Regions from separate parts of the Homo sapiens genome. Here regions 2 and 3 are each linked to region 1. The links are contacts of gene promoters, found by promoter capture Hi-C in blood cells and fetal thymus (Javierre and others, 2016). All regions are on one chromosome and are shown on one strand. The core of a region is centred on a gene start or on the middle of the fragment in contact, and the rest is flanking DNA. Distances in the headings are between cores, read along the strand shown. Region 1 holds the start of DIO2-AS1 (DIO2 antisense RNA 1). Region 2 overlaps CEP128 (centrosomal protein 128). Region 3 overlaps CEP128 (centrosomal protein 128).

Region 1 (3,880 bases), core at 871-3,370:
CATGACATTTATATAAGAAATATATGTATATAAGTAAAATTCTTCCAATAAGTTTTTTTTTTTTTACTTTATAGGCAAAAGGCAATTGTCCTTCCAAAAAGTAAGAGTTTAATATACTGAGATCAAATCACTGATATTTCCATGGTATCTGCTAACACGTATAAAATATGATGTTGAAGAGGGAACTTCCTAATTAATAATATGTCTGATATACTTGTGTACTCCTCCACCTGCCTCCAAATTGCCTTCCACTAAAACAAACCATTAAAAACTTCCCATTCAATGTATACTTTTGTGGAAATGAAATAATCAATTCAATATCTACTTTTCTAGATCTCCCGTCCTCACTGACATGCACAATATAAATGAGTTTTTACTGTTAGAACTTTGAGCACCAATTCATATTCTCATAAAAGAATTTCCATCTACTAATAAGAGCTCTTACTATTCACATTTTTAACAACAATAAACACAAACCCTCTTTGGGTTACTATCAATAATAAAGACGTGCATTGTGGTAAAATTTCCCTAGTTCACAACAGATATTTTCTTCTTGAACATCTGATTTTCAGAAGAACAATCCTGTCCTGAATTCTTTGTAATTTTACAAGTTACTTCTTCTCTTTTCTTGGCGCATGGTTTTAGTTTTCTAGTGTTTATTTATGGAGGATGCATTCCCTTGCGTCTCTATTATTTCGAGTTCCCCGTCTCTGGTTCTAAGGTGCTGCCTGCCTAAAACACACCACTTCACTGAACACCTGGCTTCTATATTCCTCTAAAATACAGATGTACAGTTGCTTTTTCTGGCATCTTGGGCAAGGTCCCACAACACTTTTAGGGAAACCAAGATTGTCTATTTTGATAACTACTTTTGCCAAAATAGTTCATTCTTCTCAAGCCTGGTTGAGGGGGTGGAGGGGACCTTTAGAAGTCATATGGGCATAGCAGGTGGGGGAAAACTGACAAAAGACCAGGGCGAAAATCATCCTCTGTGCCCCTGAAGATCTTAGTTGAAAATGCTCTACTAACATCTCTCACCAGCAAAAAGCCTGGAACACAGTATTTTTCACTTAGAAACTAAGATCACTACCTCTGATTTTGAGAGAGCAGCCCCTGGGCACTACCTGAGCAGGTAAGGGAGACCACTGCTCTAATGCTCATAACAGCTCTGAGATTTAATGAATCACAGACCCATCATCTCTTTCTAGGGCAACGTATTTTATTTTTGAGAAACAAAGTAAAGGAGGCTTCCCTTACAAATGCTGGATTTCTGACAGCTAGTTTTCAGACTTTTCTTTCGCAAGTTGATATCTAGTAACTCAGGATCACTGCCTGAAAATCGCTTCCAAAGGGTTCAAATTTGAATCAATGTAGAGGAGGTGGCACACAGCTGCTTGCTTTCATTAACTCTTACCTCTACCAGAAACCAAGCAGCTATGATGCCCAATCACAATTTCTATGACCACTTTCTTATCTTGTCAACTCTCTGAGAGTTCTGAGTAGCATTTCTCATTTCTTGCTTTTCAGTACCCACCCCTCGAACATACTTCCTCAGTGTACCTCAGCCTCCCATCAAGCAAAAAATCAAAATTCCAGTTTATGGCAAGAGCAGAATAAATGCAGCAGTCTCCTCTTCTCCATCATTTTCTGACTTTTCCCAAGTTATCGTACCAGCACAATGCCTTCTACTCCCAAATCACAGCAAGATATTAATAACCCTTAGTAGAAAGATTCCTTATTAGGTCACACAGAGTCATTATGGCTTAATAGCTGTCACCCTCCCAAGCTAACCTGTGCAACAGGTGTGGAAAGTAAACTTAGAGGCTCACTTGGCAACCCCACAAATAGGGCTTCACAGCTCTCCCCCCAATGCTCCCAATGGCCTCTGGTCCCCAGCATATGAGCCCCTGCCCCTGTAGACCTAGGGAGAAGCCCTTCTCAGCTCAGCTCACCTGTTTGTAGGCATCGAGGAGGAAGCTCTTCCAGACGCAGCGCAGTCCCTCTGAGGTCAGCATGCGCCGCCACTCTCCGCGAGTGGACTTGGAGCGGCTCAACAGCAGCACCACGTGCTTGAGCAGAATGACCGAGTCATAGAGAGCCAGGAAGAGGCAGTTGGAGAAAAAAACTGGCAGAATTTGCAGTGTGATCAGCAAGTCTACGCTGAGGATGCCCATCTTCTCTGCCTCCTGAGTCAGTTCCCTTGTGCGCTCTGGTTCCCCTTCACCCTCTTATTTAAAAGGGGGGTGGTGATAAAGGGGGTGGGGGAGGTAAGGGGGAAGGTTGGGGGTTGGGGGAGAAGGGGAAAAAAAACTAAATTAAAAGGAAGCCCAAGTTGTCTCCTCTTTCAAAGAAGCAGAAATGGCAAGACTAAGTCCAGTCTCTCCAGCCCAGCAGTTGGAGTGTGCCCATCAATTCATTCAATTCGGAGCTGCTGCCTTTTTTTTTTTTTTTTTTTTTTTTTCAGGATTTAAGATGTTAAAAAAAAAAAAAAAAAAAAAAAAAAAAAGCTGGCGTACTCGTCCCTAATCCAGTTACCTCTGTCAGAGTCCGTTAAAGACAGGCAGTTCTACTTTCATTTCCAAGCACCTATGAGACTGTGGCAGAGATTTTAAAATTTTCTTTAGCCTTTCATTGTCTCTATGCTCTTTAAACGTAGCCTGTTTCTTTCTTGAATTGCCAGAGTTTTTTTTTTTTTTAAATGTGCTTTAAGGGTAGTTTTTTTTTTTTCTTTCTTTACTCCGTTTTACACACACTTTCTGTGCTTCTCTTTCTCCCAGTCTCACTCTCTCCCTTCCCCAGGAGCGACTGACTCCTCTTTTTTCTCACTCTCTGTCTTTCCCTTCTTGCTATCTGTCTGTGGTGCAAAGTGCCTCTCTCTGCAGCCCAGTGAGTCTCCCTGACGCCTTTTATACATTCCCTGGCTAATTGCTGCAATAGAGAAGTGAAAGCCTAATCTTGGTAAAGATCTTGACGTCATTGAGAAAGAGGGCTTTACTTTGGCCAGGATTGCAGTGAATAGAAAAGCAAAACTCGACAACTTTTTTTTTTTAGAAGGGGTTGGGGAGAGACAGTGGAATTTTGCTTTGTGATTTAAAGAGAGAAAAAAACTAATACCCTTGACAGCCTTCAGGAAATGCTTCCAAACTTTGGGAAAAGTAATTTAATATAATGTGCAGATTGATATGGCCAACACTCTCTCTTCTGATTATCATTATCATTAATTTATGAGGGGTTTTGGAAAGAAAGGATCCTGGAAGGCAGGTAGAAAAAAGGAAGAGTTATCACAGGCGGTCTTTGCTCTGTTTCTTGGAAAATATGAACATTTATATACAATCTTTATACCTTTATACCATGACTCCAACCCTTTGTAAGATCTGTGACCTAGGTCCTTTAAATTTTTTTGAGTCATTATCTTATTTAAGAAAATGCAAAATGAGTTGTAGGTGGAAAACTTGTAAACTATTTGAGTACCATCCCAGCATTTCTTTAAAGCTTCTTGCAGAAACTTGAATACAGGTTTCTTTTTAGTTTTACCCAAGCTTCTAATGAAAAAAAAAAAAAAAATCCAAGTTCCTCCAGACAGGGAAGGAGCTAGGCGACATTCTTTTAGCTTCATTTTGCAGATAAAATTAAAACTTTCCATTGAATAGCATTAAGAAGCCATAAGGCTGAGAAATTATTAATGAAAGCTCTTTAAATTTGGTGTTTCACCTGCTTCTGTTAGCATAACCCCTAAGAGACCTGATACTTTAAGGAATCTTCCTTTTTGTTTGAAAAAAATTTTAATTAAATGTATGGGAAGTTAAGAGCCGACTGAATTGGTTCAAGGTGCCACATTGACCATTGTTCATTGGCTTGCCTCTCCCATGAGTCTTTAGGA
Region 2 (3,880 bases), core at 920-3,419, 660 kb after region 1:
CCTTGATACAAATGTGAACAGAAATACAATACACCAAAACTTATGGGATGCAAAAAAGCAGTTCTAAGAGGGAGTTTTATGGCAATAAATGCCTACATTTAGAAAAAGATCTCAAATAAATAACCTAACTATACCTCAAGAAACTAAAAAACAAAATTAAACTAAACTAAGCCACTGTCAATAGAAGAAAGGAAATCACAAAGATTGCAGCAAAAATAAATGAAATAGACTAGAAAAACAATAGAAAAGATCCATGAAACTAACAGTTGTTTGGGTAAACTTTTATTTTAGGTTCAGGGGTACATGGGCAGGTTTGTTACATAGGTAAACTTGTGTCACAGAGGTTTGTTGTACAGATTATTTCTTCACCCAGGTATTAAGCCTAGTACCCAGGAGTTATTTTTTTCTGCTTAAAGTTAGTTTTTTGAAAAGATAAAGAAAACTGACAAAATGCTAGCTAGACTGAATAAGGAAAAAAAGAGTAATGACTCAAGTCAATAAAATCAAAAGTAAAAGAGGAGACATTACAAATGATACCACAAAAATACAAAGTCTTATAAGAAAATACTATGAACAATTTTATGCCAACAAATTGGATAACCTAGGAGAAATGGGTAAATTCCTAAAAACCTACAACTTACCAAGACTGAGTCACAAAGAAACAGAAAATCCAAACAAACCAATAATGAGTAAGGTGATTGAATCAGTAATCAAAGACCTCCCAACAAAGAAAAGCCCAGAACCTGATTACTTCACAGGTAAAATCTACCAAACATGTAAAGAAAAGCTAATGCCAATCCTTCTCAAGCTCTTCCAAAAAACTGAAGATAAGAGAACATGTCCAACCTCATCCTATGAGGCCAGCAGTACCATGAGACCAAAGACACTACTAAAAAAGATAATTACAAGCCAATATCCCCGATGAACACAGATGTAAAAATCCTCTGCAAAATACTAGCAAACCAAATTCAGTAGCACATTAAAAGAATCATTACACCAATCATTACACCATGATCACTTAGTATTTATCCCCAGAATACAAAGCTGCAAATCAATAAGTGTAACATACCATATTAACAGAATAAAGAATAAAAATCATATGGTCTTCTCCATAGATGCAGAAAAAGCATTTAATATAATTCAACATCCTTTCATGATAAAAAGAGAAACTTCCAATAAATTAGACATAGAATGAGTTTATTTTAGCATAATAAAGGCCATATACAACAAGCCAACAGCTAACATAGTACTCAACAGTAAAAATCTAAAAGCTTTTTCCCTAAGATCAGAAAAAGCCACGGATGCCCAGTATGAACACTTCCATTCAACGTAGTACTGAAGGTCCTGGCCAAAGCAAGTATGCAAGAAAAAGAAATAAAAGGCATCTAGATGAGGAAGGAAGAAGTCAAATTGTCCCTGTTTTCAGATGACATGATCTTATATACAGAAAGCCCTAAAGAGGCCCCTAAAAAAAACTGTTAGAAGTAATAAACAAATTCAGTAAAGTTGCAGAAATCAAAATTAAACATACAAGAATCAGCAGCATTTCTATACATAACAACTCAAAAAAAAAAAGTCCTGTTCACTATAGCACCCAAAAAATACGAAGAAATAAATTTACCTAAGGTGATGAAAGATTTGTACTCTGAAAATAAAAAAAATTAAAGAAAGAGGAAGTCAGCAATGTAAAATCTTGGTAAAAGAAAATAGCCAGTGGAAAAAAAAATCAAGATATACAGAGAAAGCCACATAACGTAGGCACTATAGACCATGGTAAAGAATTTGGAACGAAAGAAACCCAGGTAGGATTTTTAAACCTGGAGGAATAATTAAACATAATGACAATTTAAAAAAATAATTTGCCTGCAGTGAGAAGCACAGATAAAGGCAGGTATGGGAGCAGAGGGACCAACTTCATTGGATGCCACTGCAGTAAACCCACTGAGAAGAGATGGTAGCTTGAAAAGTAGTATTAGAAGTAGATGGAATTGAGCAAGATTTCAGAAATTAAAGGGACAGGATTTTGTAATGGATTGGAAGTATGGTGTAAAGAAATGGATCTAGATGAATCCTTGGTGACCAGCTTAACGTGCTGGATGGAATATGATGCCATTTCCTGAGACAGTGAAGACCAAAGTAAGTAAAAACAACCCTAAATGAAGGTTGTGGACCTTAACCTAAAGACATATATTTATAGCTTTTGAGTGATGACATAATTCCTAATAATAAGAATTATTTTAAAGAAAGTATATTTTAGAACTTCTTTATTTTTTCTTTCTCTGAGACCTAAGGGAAAAATATTAGAAATGTAATCCAATACTAAAAAATTCATATTTACCAGAATACCATTATCAACTAAGTTTAAGACTAGAATACCAAAAATTCCTAAATCTCCATATTTGGTTATAAAAATAGCAAAATAACAAGAATAAAAATTAGAATGGCTTTTAAGATTAGTATTTAATGAAAGGTCAAACAAAAGAAAAAGCATTCTGTTTAAAAGATGGTATTCTCGCTTTTCAATATGTTGATTCCTCAGATCTTTAACAATACCTGGTGCTTCAAAGTCCACTTAAATAAATATGTTATATATCCTGCTGCTGTGATCTATGCAATAATCCTGTTATTCTAAATGCAGTATTGACAGAATTCTTATAAACTCTATTAATGGTCAACCCTTCCAGAAACAGCTGGATCCATGTTTACATTTTTATTTTTAATAGTGATCCTCCTATAGAAAACTAAAATAGAATTGACTTTTTCCTCCAAAAATAATCAAATAACATGCAGTCATATCACACTCAGCTCAATAAAATCTAGACAACTAATAAACTGAAATTTCCCATATGGTATAAGGCCTATGCAATATTGATTGCGTATCACCACAATTAAGTGTTAATAGAAAATATTTTCCATGACATCATACTATAAACAATAACTCTTCCCTTCCAATGGACAATTTGACATTAGCAAAAAATATTTATGATTCACAAAAGATTAACACATCAAATACTGACATATATGACAGCAACCACAACTTTTTGTCTCTCAAAGAAAAATGTGTTCCATAAGCTTTCAAGATATATTTTAGTCACTGAGAAAATGCATGATAAACAACTGTAGCCTCAGAATAATACACAATAAACGTGATTAAGAGGGCTTACCAGTAGAAAGTGAAATTGGCAAGAAATAGGGGCAGCATTTATTTTCACTTTATGTATGTACAATATTTAAGTTTGCCACAGTGAAGGTGCATCATTTTGGTAATTTTATTTTAAACTTAAATCTGAAGCAGGGGAAACAGCTGCAGTCTCTGAGAAGCTTAACACTCAAATAATGAAACCATCTTCTCTGACAGCAGGTTATGAATTCACAAATACAACACAATACATCGACCAGTTATAAAACATAAATGTTGACTTCAATTGGAATGAGTCACAAAGTCTATATTAAGCCCTGGAAACAAACATCATGTGGCCTTCAGAAGACCTTCTTAATTCCAACAATGTTATTATTAAGTTTCACTTTGGACATTTTTTTCTTAATCAGGACTATACACACCCATAAGAAATTTGAGATGCCCTTCGTGCAATTATGAGACAATCTTACTTTGACAGCAAATTACACAAAGCACAAAACAAGGTGTAACATCACAACTTGATGTAAGGAACTGGCACATGAACAATTCAACTGAGTGTACAATTATGTGGGCACAATTTTCTGGGTTTAGACAATATAAAAGGCTGTGTCCTCATGAGCTGGGCAGAGGGGATAGCTGGGTAAACTAGCATGTTTTATACAGCAATTACACCAATGAGCTGGGCACCAGTGAGGAGTGACATCCAGTTGCACTTTATGTGATATGGAGTCATTCTTGATG
Region 3 (3,880 bases), core at 802-3,301, 630 kb after region 1:
GTTTGACTGTTGCTTGGAAATCTGAGATACTTGATGCTGTAAACCCTTTCGATCACCTTCTGCTTTCGTAAGTTGTGTACGCAGTTCTTCTACCTAACACATGGTCAAAAATCAAACATCGGTTTTCACAATCAGAGAAAGACCTACTTCAAATGGGCTATTGTAAACACAAGTTGAATCCAGGTTAATCTCCTTCCAAGCATAGTGGAACGGTTTCCTGCTCCATTTCCTCATTCCTCTCATCTCTTCCACAAAGAATAAATGAATGGCTTTTCCTTCTCTGTGTCCACTGAGGCAAAGAATGGAATGTGACTAGATTTTTTTTTTCATCACTTATTTTGTCCTCAGTCTACTCCATTACTATTAACCCAAATCAACTTCAATTAAGTATTATACTTCTTATATTTTTCAATTTTCACCCATTTGCTTTCATGTGAACATGGTCTATTGGTTGTTAAATTCAAGATAAATGATCATGATTTAGCATATTTTGATACTAAAATCATGCTCAAAATAAGTATGTAATAGATGCTGTTGAATAAACTCTAAACTCCTTGAAGTCAGAAACTGATTTGTTTATCTTTCTATCCTTAGACTGCCAAATTACCTAGCACATAGCAGGTACTTCCAAATGAACATTAAACAAGTTAACAGTGGCAAAAAGATTCAGCTAAAATCACAATGACAATCTAAACAAAGAAATCTCTTGCTTCCATAACTGAAACTGGAGATTATAAGTTAGAGTTCCAAACAAATCAGAACGGAATTAAATACAAATATAAACTTCCAAAAAGGAAAGTTTGAACTCTGCCAAAATTAATTCCATGTGACCACTGGCTGCAGAACAAAGTCAGCGAATATTTTCAAAGGTTTTGTAAAACAGGTGCTATCTTGTATTTTCAGCACCAATTGTCAGAATGTAATACTCCTTCTGAACATCTATAATGCTTGACATCTTTGCTTACCCTTAGCATATTCTGAAGGTGTGTTATATAACATACACTTCAAAACAGAAGAAAGTATAATTGCAGTTTGTATTAAACACAGACAGGCAGTTAGAAACCCATATGCCCTTATCCAATGTATGTAAGATGGTTATTTAAAGTTACTGAACTTTAAACATCAGAAGCGCCAAACTCCCATTATGGGCTGATGGAATGCAAAACGTTATACTTTAAAATTAAGCCTTATCGGCCGGGCGTGGTGGCTCACACCTATAATCCCAGCACTTTGGGAGGCCGAGGTGGGGAATCACGAAGTCAGGAGATCGAGAACATCCTGGCCAACATGGTGAAACCCCATCTTTCCTAAAAAAACAAAACATTAGCCAGGTGTGGTGGCGCATGCCTGTAATCCCAGCTACTGGGAGGCTGAGGCAGGAGAATCGCTTGAACCCGGGAGGCTGAGGTTGTGGTGAGCCAAGATTGCGCCACTGCACTCCAGCCTGGCAACAGAGCGAGACTGCGTCTCAAAAAAAATAAAATAAAATTACCCTTATCTTTGGTTTAAAAGGGTCAAGTAGTATCTTGAAAACATGAATTAAAGACAATGACGTTATTCAAAGTAACCTAAACATGCAAAGGTCTGCTGCATGTAGTTTACTTCTTCCTTTACTTCCCAGTGCCTCCTGGAATAAAATTAAGCTCCTGGGAAAATTTTATCTTATACATTCAGTCTTACTTTTACACTGCTCATGCTAAGACAGATAAGTAGTAAGTTGTAGCAGCAATCAGCAAGATACACCATCACAGTGGGGACTCTGGCTGGTGTTTGTACTAGCTTTCTCTGAATTTCCCTGAAAGAATTTTATCCTTTGCTTAGGTGTGCTAATATACATTCCTTAGGAAAACATTTTTTCTAGACCTAGTTCTTTTTTTTCCTTTCACAAAGACATTTAAATAGAGCTACTCAATCCTGATTTAATGTAAAAGTATATTATAATAACTTGCATAGACTTACCTGATGCAAAAGTGTTTCTCGGCTGCCTTCTGATTGATTCAATAACCTTCGAGATAGCTCCAATTCCTGTTCAAGCTAGAGTTTCAACAAAGGATAAAGAAAAATGCCCAATGGAGCAGAAGATAACTAAATTATTATGGGCACAGTTTAAAAGGAGAAAAGTGGAAAAGTTTTCAGAAGACATTTACAGCTAATATAAAAGAATAAATATCTCACTATGAACATATATCAATACTTCCATTAAAATAATGTGAATCGTATAACATAAAGTGAACCAGACCAGGCCTCAGGAAGTCTGGGATCTAGTAAGTTTCATCTCAACTGTGAGCCAGTCCAAGTCTCTCCTCCTCTGGCCTCCATTCTATCATCTCTAAAATAAGTATTTTATATTAAACAGTCTCCAAGATCCCTTCCAGTTCTAAATCTCTTTAATCTAAATTCTAAGGCAATTTTTTTCTTTAAATTAGAATACACAGTGTCAAATTAACTAAAGTAGAATAAAAACTGCAGGGACCCAATAACTCAAAAGTTTCATCTAATTGGTGATTTCCTACATTCCTAATATTTCTAATATTTATAAGACATTCCTTAAATTTTTAGATGTCTAAATTCAGAATGAGACATTTAAAATTTCCTTAATGATACTGCCATTAGATAAATATCGATAAAAAATGTGACCAGTTCAGGAGATCAAGACCATCCTGGCTAACACGGTGAAACCCCATCTCTACTAAAAATACAAAAAATTAGTCAGGCATGGTGGCAGACACCCGTAATCCCAGCTACTCGGGAGGCTGAGGCAGAAGAATGGCGTGAACCTGGGAGGCAGAGCTTGCAGTGAGCCGAAATCGCGCCACTGCACTCCAGCCTGGGCAACAGAGCGAGACTCCGTCTCAAAAAAATGTGACCAGTTAAGTGACTAAATATTCTACAAACTCCTAACATGCCTAGATGATTTCAAGTTGAAATATGTAATAGGATAGAACACAAGTTTCTTAACAATTTAGAGCTTATATGTGCTAGACTTGTTTGCATTCTGTAACAGTAAGATAGTTTTATAAAAATCACACATTTATATTAAGATGCTTGTAAGTGCTTAGATTTGTAACACTTATCCTAAATTATCATTTCAGTTGAACAACTGCTATCTGTATATTAATCATTTAATAACTGTACATGTGGTAGGTGTGCCTATGAAAGAACATGAGGGAGCCTTGTGGTGATAGAACAGTTCTGTATCCTGACGGTGGTAGTGGTAACAAGAATCTATACAAGATAAAAATGGACTGAACTTCACACAAACACACACACACACACACAAATACAAATGAGTTATATATATAAAGCTGGTGAAATCTGTATAAACTAAGTAGATTGTACCAACACCAATTTCCTGGTTTTGATATTGAATGGCAATTATGCAAAATGTTACCATTGAGGCAAATTGGGTGCATGGGACCTCTCTGTGCATCTTGTTTTACAATATCCTATAAATCTATAATTATTTCAAAATATATCTTTAAATCCCAATATATAATTTTTTAAAAATTATACATGTGGCTCATAAAACAAATGTCATATTAAAAAAAAGTAAAGTATAAGTGGGGATCACAGAATCCACATAAAATACTGTCCTGTTCTTCAGTCTCTATGGAGAAATAGAGTGAAGAAATCATACTTGAAGCAAAATGACTTTGAACTCAACCAAAGCCCATATTGATCATAATCCCTGTGTAATTTCAACATCGCAACTCCCAAAGGGCAAATCTGATGGCCTAACATACTTCGCTTACCCTAAAAGCAGCAGGGAAGCTGCCTTTACATGAGTTGGTGAAATAAAATAAAGGAGGCAATGGTAGGTAGAAAAAAGCAATAATACGGAGTAAAGAACAGGGCAAATTTTCACTTCATCATTCATTAC

What was found. The method cuts DNA at HindIII sites, captures the fragments that hold promoters and counts their contacts. A CHiCAGO score of 5 or more calls a contact.
Region 2: a contact is called between a fragment that was not itself captured here and the fragment with the promoter of DIO2-AS1 in region 1, in 1 of 17 cell types (endothelial precursors). The highest score is 5.4, in endothelial precursors.
Region 3: a fragment that was not itself captured here is called in contact with the fragment with the promoter of DIO2-AS1 in region 1 in 1 of 17 cell types (endothelial precursors); the score reaches 5.1 in endothelial precursors.

Annotation. Positions count from the first base shown.
Region 1 is chr14:80,209,299-80,213,178 of GRCh38, forward strand. It overlaps DIO2-AS1 (DIO2 antisense RNA 1), which reads left to right and starts at 2,121. Exons shown (of 9, transcript NR_038355.1): 1 at 2,121-2,190. It overlaps DIO2 (iodothyronine deiodinase 2), which reads right to left and starts at 2,206. Exons shown (of 2, transcript NM_013989.5): 1 at 1,953-2,206. The coding sequence starts at 2,174. The HindIII fragment of the contact is 6,513 bases long and covers 1-3,490 here.
Region 2 is chr14:80,869,394-80,873,273 of GRCh38, forward strand. The region is part of intron 8 of CEP128 (centrosomal protein 128); the gene reads right to left. Among named protein-coding and RNA genes, the nearest start is that of CEP128, 70 kb to the right of the region's middle. The HindIII fragment of the contact is 1,801 bases long and covers 1,270-3,070 here.
Region 3 is chr14:80,836,245-80,840,124 of GRCh38, forward strand. It overlaps CEP128 (centrosomal protein 128), which reads right to left. Exons shown (of 25, transcript NM_152446.5): 11 at 1,960-2,034; 12 at 1-93. Among named protein-coding and RNA genes, the nearest start is that of CEP128, 100 kb to the right of the region's middle. The HindIII fragment of the contact is 6,066 bases long and covers 1-3,880 here.